Regions from separate parts of the Homo sapiens genome. Here region 2 is linked to region 1. The links are contacts of gene promoters, found by promoter capture Hi-C in human tissues and cell types (Jung and others, 2019). All regions are on one chromosome and are shown on one strand. The core of a region is centred on a gene start or on the middle of the fragment in contact, and the rest is flanking DNA. Distances in the headings are between cores, read along the strand shown.

Region 1 (3,306 bases), core at 1-2,500:
CGTGGGCCGCTCACTGTCGCGTGCGCGGATTTGATCTCGTTGCAGGTTCCGGGGGAGGGACCCCCCCCCGCCCCGCCCCGCCCCGCCTGCTGGCGGTAGACGCGCCGTAAATGCGCTTTGGGGACCGGAGGATAACGAGACAGACTTACAGGCAGTGGGAAGCCCGGGGGTCCCGCGAGGCCGCCGGTGGGGAGTTCTGTGGCCGGCTCGGCGCCCCCGGACCCCGGCGTTCAGGCCCCAGTGGGAGACCTTCCCACCCTTCCCAGTGGTTTCCACCCCGCGAATTGCAGATTATCTCCCGAATCCCAGGGATTTAGCGGTCGAGTGAGCGGAGGTGGAGCGGGGCTCCGAGCGCCGCTCCGGGCAGGGGGCAGGTTCCCGGAGCTCTCGCCCCATCGGGGCAGAGAGTACTGACCGCGCTGCGGGACGCGGCTGGCAAGGCCCTGGCCCTGCAGGGGCGCGGACGCCAGCGTTTAGCTCAGCCCTGGGCTAGGAGTGGAGACGCAGCCCCGCCGCGTGCTCCGGCAGGGGACCCGGGTGGGGACGGGGGCGGAGGAGCCTGGGGGCAGGGAAGGGGACAAAGAGCCGCCCTGCTGCGGGGAAGAGCGACCCCCATGTCACAGTCCTATTGTTCGCTGTGTCTCCGACTGCCCTGAACTCTGGTGCCCCCGGGAGGGAGAAGGGGCGCCGTCGCCCGGATCGTGGGTATTTGTTTATCTGGGGAGAGGGAAGAGGACCGGGGACGCGGGCCGGGGAGGGGGCTCGACTGCTATTTTCGCGCGTCGCCTTTAAGGGAAGCCCGGCCCTACCTTTCCCACCGTCCCCCTCCCCGCAGCCGTACCTGCATTTTAAAAGCGCCCTGTAGCCCTGGGATTGGCTAAGGCCGCGTCCTCCGGGCGCAGAAACTTGAACCGCCGGGAGCCGGCCGCGGGCGGGGGTCGGAAACCCCGCGGATGGACCGTACCACCGCCGCAGCTTCCCCCGCGCGCGCCCCGCCCCTCCCGCACACCCCCGGAGCGGCCCAATCGCCCGGCCGGGAGGGCGGGACCGCGGCCGGAACGCGCCTCTGAGAGGGCACTGGACGGGCGGGCGCACCGCGCAGGGGGACGGCGGGGGCCGCGCCTCTGCTCCCCAGTCGCCCTCGGGGGCGGGGCCGGGCCTCGGAGACCCGCCCACTCTCCGCCCGGGGTGGGCGGGGCGGCGGGGGCTCCGGGAGCTGGGCCGGGGGCGGGCCTCCGCCTGCTTCTCCAGAACCCTGAGAGCGCCCGGCACCGCGGCCGCCGACGCAGCAGCCGCCTCCGCTCGTCAACCCCGAGGCGCGCGGGCTCCCGGGCGGCCCCGGCGGGCGCGGCGAGAGGACGCGCCAGGCGGCGCGGGGCGGGCCGCACGCGCCCCCGGCCGCCCCCCGCCCGCGCGCGGACCGGCCCAGCGGAGCCCCGGCGCGGGGAAGCGCCGGCCGGGCGAGGGCGAGGGCGATGCCGCGGTGACGGCCCCGCCATGGCTAAGCCCGCGGCGACGGCGGCGGCGGCGTCGGAGGAGCTGAGCCAGGTGCCGGACGAGGAGCTGCTGCGCTGGAGCAAGGAGGAGCTGGCGCGGCGGCTGCGGCGCGCCGAGGGCGAGAAGGTGGGCCTCATGCTGGAGCACGGCGGCCTGATGCGCGACGTGAACCGGCGGCTGCAGCAGCACCTGCTGGAGATCCGCGGCCTCAAGGACGTGAACCAGCGGCTGCAGGACGACAACCAGGAGCTGCGCGAGCTCTGCTGCTTCCTCGACGACGACCGGCAGAAGGGGCGCAAGCTGGCGCGCGAGTGGCAGCGCTTCGGGCGCCACGCGGCCGGCGCCGTGTGGCACGAGGTGGCCCGCTCGCAGCAGAAGCTGCGCGAGCTCGAGGCGCGCCAGGAGGCCCTGCTGCGCGAGAACCTGGAGCTCAAGGAGCTGGTGCTGCTGCTGGACGAGGAGCGCGCGGCACTGGCGGCGACGGGGGCCGCAAGCGGTGGCGGCGGCGGCGGGGGCGGCGCCGGCTCCCGCAGCTCCATCGACAGCCAGGCCAGCCTGAGCGGGCCGCTGTCGGGTGGCGCGCCCGGCGCGGGGGCCCGCGACGTGGGCGACGGCAGCAGTACGTCCAGCGCGGGCAGCGGCGGCAGCCCCGACCACCACCACCACGTCCCACCCCCGCTGCTGCCCCCCGGGCCGCACAAGGCCCCCGACGGCAAGGCAGGAGCCACACGTCGGTCCCTGGACGACTTGTCGGCGCCGCCGCACCACCGCAGCATCCCCAACGGCCTGCACGGTAAGGACTACACGGGCCGGGCAGCGCGGGTCTCCCTGGCTGCAGCCCTTTTCCCAGGCTGCGGCGAGAGGAGGTGGTCCCTGGCTGTCCCACTCATGCGGCCGCCACTCCAGACTCCTCCAGCTGTCATGGATCCTGGGCCAGGGGATCCCGCACTCACCCAAAGTGGGGCTTTGGGCGGTGGTGGGCCGGTTCAGTGGTGGAGCGTCTTTTTGTCCAGCTCAGAACCTGCTGCCGGTCCGGTCCCAGAAAAGTTTCTAGCGGGTGTAGTTGCCAAAATTAGGGTCTGTCACTGCTGGGCTGGCGGTGGGCGCCTCATCCCAGCCTTGGAAATCCTTGCCTAGTAGCGGGAAGTTCTAAACAGCAAAGGATACAAGGCCCCTTGAGCGCAAGTGAATTTCCCCTCTTGCAGCAACAGGTGTCCTCCAAACCAAGCAGCGTCCACGTGTGTGCGGTGGCTGGAGTTCTGCAGTGGGGTGTGGGGATTGGGAAGGTGCACAGGCAGCCGCTTGAGACCCAGAGGCAGTTGGGGAGAGGCCTGGGGCTCAGAGCCTTTCTTGTTTGCCATAAATTCCGCCCTTCTAGTCCTGGGACCTTTCTCAGCCGAGACTCTAAGACTTTCCCGAGGGAGATGTATTTGGAACGGATTCTAGCTTTTCTCCTCTGTGTGCCTCAGTTTCTTTGTCTGTGAAATGGAGATGATGACCTCTGCCTCGTGGGTTTGAGGTGGAGATAAACCTTCTGAAGGGATTTATAAACTGTTGATCGCCTTACAGGAAGTGCCGTGGTCATCCGTGACCAGGGTGTGGGTGGGAGGAACTTTGGCCTCTGTCAGCTTCTGTCTTCTACGCCCATGTTACTGCTGCGCCCAGTGCAGAGGGTGGCCCCAGCTTGGGGCTGTGGGAGCTTGCAGCCTGCTCCCTCTCCCAGCCCCCTGCTCAGCCCTTCTGCTCCCTGCCAGCTTTCTCCTCCTCGCTGGTGGATCCGGGGCCTCCCTGTTCTTCCACGTTTTTTGG
Region 2 (3,306 bases), core at 552-3,051, 190 kb before region 1:
TCTCTGCAGGAAGAGTCAAGGAGGATGAGGCTGGGGTGAGGCTCTTCTGTCTGGTGGCAGAGGGCTCCCAGGTGACCTGGAGCACCCTGGTGATGCAATAGGTTGCTGGATATCAAAGGGAGAGGGCAGGTACATGCACGTTAGAACACTTTGGCAGGGAGGCCGAGGGCGGGGCTTATGCCTGTAATTCTAGCATTTTGGGAGGCCGAGGTGGGCAGATTGCCTGAATTCAGGAGTTCAAGACCAGCCTGGGCAACATGGGAAACCCCGTCTCTACCAAAAAAAATACAAAAAATTAGCCAGACATGGTGGTGTGCACCTATAGTCCTAGCTATTTGGGAAGCTGAGGTGGGAGAATCACCTGAGCCCAGGAGGTAGAGGTTGCAGTGAGCCAAGATCACACCACTGCACTCCAGCCTAGATGACAGAGTAAGACCCTGTCACAAAAAAAAAGGAAAAGAAAAAAAGAAAACTTTGGCAGGGAAAGGAAATGGGGGGAGGGGCCAAAGTTGGCAGAGGGCCAGGTAAAGTGTCCTCTTGCGCCCGCCTGGCACAGGTGGGTTCTCTGCCTCTCTAAGGCAGCAGGCAGGTGCTATGGAGAAGCGGCTTTCAAAGGGTGAGACTTAACACCCAGATGCACATTTCATCTTCCTCATTTCCCATCTGTCTATTCCAGTGTTCATGCTCTCTCTATTCCACTTTGCAGTTTTATACTTCAGGATATGTTGGATGATTGGCATAAAAAGCTGAGGTGTGGTATTTCTGAACTTGAAAAGGAAGTAATAATCATGAATAATTAGAAGATGGTTTTCTTTAAAGCCGGGTGTGGTGGTGTGTGCCTGTAGTCCTAGTTATTTGGGAGGCTGAGGTGCGAGGACGACTTGGGCCCAGGAGGTTGAGGCTGCAGTGAGCTATGATTGCACCACTGCATTCCATACAGTGCAGCTGGGGCAATGCTCAACTCCAGCCTGGGCAACAGAGTGAGACCCGATCTTAAAAAGAAAAAAAGAATGTTAGCATTCCTTATGTTTAATGTTATGATATTTGGTGGCCACAATTTAGACATGGGAAAGGAGACATATATTTAAAACTTCAGCTGCCAAATTGAGCTGGAGATTTTCTTAGAAGATATTATTTCCACTAAAGTTACAAATAAGACAATTAAGAACTCAGTCCACTTTCTTTTGAGATGATAAAGAAGATCATTGCTCTCTTAACCTAGAGTATTAAACAGCTATGTTTTTCCCACAGTGGTAAAATCTTACTCTAAAAAAAAGCTAAATTTAGAATAATTACAATGATATGCATGTTAAGTCACTTAGGTATAATCTACACAGCATTAAAAAAGATCTTTGGGGAAAGTTCAAGAAAAATCTCTGAAAATTAATAATGTGTGATGTTTTTGCTAAACATTTTAACAGACTGATATTCCACGCCATTGTGAGTTAATTTATATCCTGAGCACCAAAAATGTTGTCATTGTAATAAATGATGTGTACTCTGTAGGACAATATAACCACAGTGTTCAGTGGAATTAATAGCAGCATTTGTACAACGTGTGAAAAAGAGAAAGGAAAGTGAAAGCTCTGTAGCCTTTATTCATAGAAAGGCAATTTTTAAAAATCACCCAGAAATGTGCAGCCTTGTGCATCTATTGTTTAATCCAACACTCTACCAAAAATAGTTACACAGTGCCAGGCCCTATGCTTGGGGCTGGGAATGTAGCACATAGAACACAGTGCTTTCCGAACTGCAGGTAGCCGTGAAGTCAATTAAAGAGTCATCATTGGCAAGGTTTAAAATGAAATAGAGGCCAGGCATGGTGGCTTACGCCTGTAATCCCAGCACTTTGGGAAGCCGAGGTGGGTGGATCACCTGAGGTCAGGAGTTCGAAACCAGCCTGGCCAACATGGTGAAACCCCATCTCTACTAAAAATACAAAAATTAGCTGGGCGTAGAGGTGAGCACTTGTAGTCCCAGCTACTCAGGAGGCTGAGGCATGAGAGTCACTTGAACCCAGGAGGTGGAGGTTGCAATGAGCCGAGATCGTGCCACTGCACTCTATCCTGGACAATGGAGCAAGATGCTGTCTCAAAAAAAATAAATAAATGAATAAAAAGAAAGAAAGAAATAGAAAATTCCACTTCTGGGTACTCAAAATTGTTGAAAGCAGGGACTTGGACAGATATTCATACACCCATGTTCATAGCAGCATTATTCACAATAGCCGAGGGGTGGGAGCAACCTGAGTATCTACCGATGGATGAATGGTTAAACAAAATGTGGTCCATCCATAGGGTGGAATCTTATTTCATCCTAAAAAGGAAGGGAATTCTGATACATGCTATCAGCATGTATCAAGACATTATGCAGCGTGAAATAAACCAGTCCCCAAAAGCGCAAATAGTCTATGACTCCACTTACACGAAGTGCCTAGGGTTGTCAAATTCATAGAGACAGAGAGTGGAATGGTGGTTGCCAAGGGCTGGGGAGAGGAAGGAATAGTAAGTGAGTGCTTAATGGGCGCAAAGTTTCCCTTTGGAATGATGAGAAAGTTCTGCAGATGAATGGTGGTGTGGGTAGCAGAACAATGTGAATCTCCTCATGCTTTATAACTGGGCACTTAAAGATGGTTACAATGGTAACTTTTATGTCGTGTGTGTACACATACACACACACACACACACATATTAGGGAGATATTTTACAGTCTCCATGTGTTGCCCAGGTTGGAGTGCAGTGGCTATTCACAAGTGCAATCAGAGCACACTAGAGCCTCCAACTCCTGGGCTCAAACGATCCTCCCTCCTCAGCCTCCCAAGCAGCTGAAACTACAGACACACACCACCATGCCTGGCTGTTGTGTATATTCTAACACAGTTTTTAACATGAAATGGAATAGACAATTTTGGACTGCACTGAGCATAGTAAGAACGAGTATTTGTGCTGGAAACATTGGTATTTACTTACAATGTACCTACATGTGCTGAGTTGCGATGTATAATACAAGGCATTTCTTGTTGTGGGTCACGGTCACAATCTAAGAGACATTTGGACATATAATAATTGTACAGATAGTTGTATAAATACAAATGATAAGCGCCAAGGAACAAAGCTAGGTGGAAGGATTTCAGATTATTTCTGAGGGTCTGGACTGGAATAAGGAGGAAAAGAAGCTACCAGAACAGCCGTGGGTAGAGCAAGGGGCAGCCACATCAGGCAAGCTAGGGTAGGAGATGGGGAGGCCCTGCTTGCAGCGGGCCTTGGACAGCCTGTCAGGGGCTTCTGATTTTACTCTAAGAGCAGA

The links. The method cuts DNA at HindIII sites, captures the fragments that hold promoters and counts their contacts. A contact is called where the count stands out against the background at its distance.
Region 2: a contact is called between a fragment that was not itself captured here and the fragment with the promoter of CCDC85C in region 1, in 1 of the 25 tissues and cell types used here (mesendoderm cells).

What each region holds. Positions count from the first base shown.
Region 1 is chr14:99,602,151-99,605,456 of GRCh38, reverse strand. CCDC85C (coiled-coil domain containing 85C) reads left to right here and starts at 1,250. Exons shown (of 6, transcript NM_001144995.2): 1 at 1,250-2,290. The coding sequence starts at 1,498. It also overlaps a transcript of HHIPL1 not described here. RefSeq lists silencers at 46-195, 376-445, 506-645, 786-1,315 and enhancers at 1,576-1,695, 2,402-3,055. The HindIII fragment of the contact is 22,433 bases long and covers 1-3,306 here.
Region 2 is chr14:99,788,014-99,791,319 of GRCh38, reverse strand. It overlaps a transcript of EML1 not described here. Among named protein-coding and RNA genes, the nearest start is that of EML1, 3.7 kb to the left of the region's middle. RefSeq lists an enhancer at 1,550-1,689. The HindIII fragment of the contact is 8,796 bases long and covers 1-3,306 here.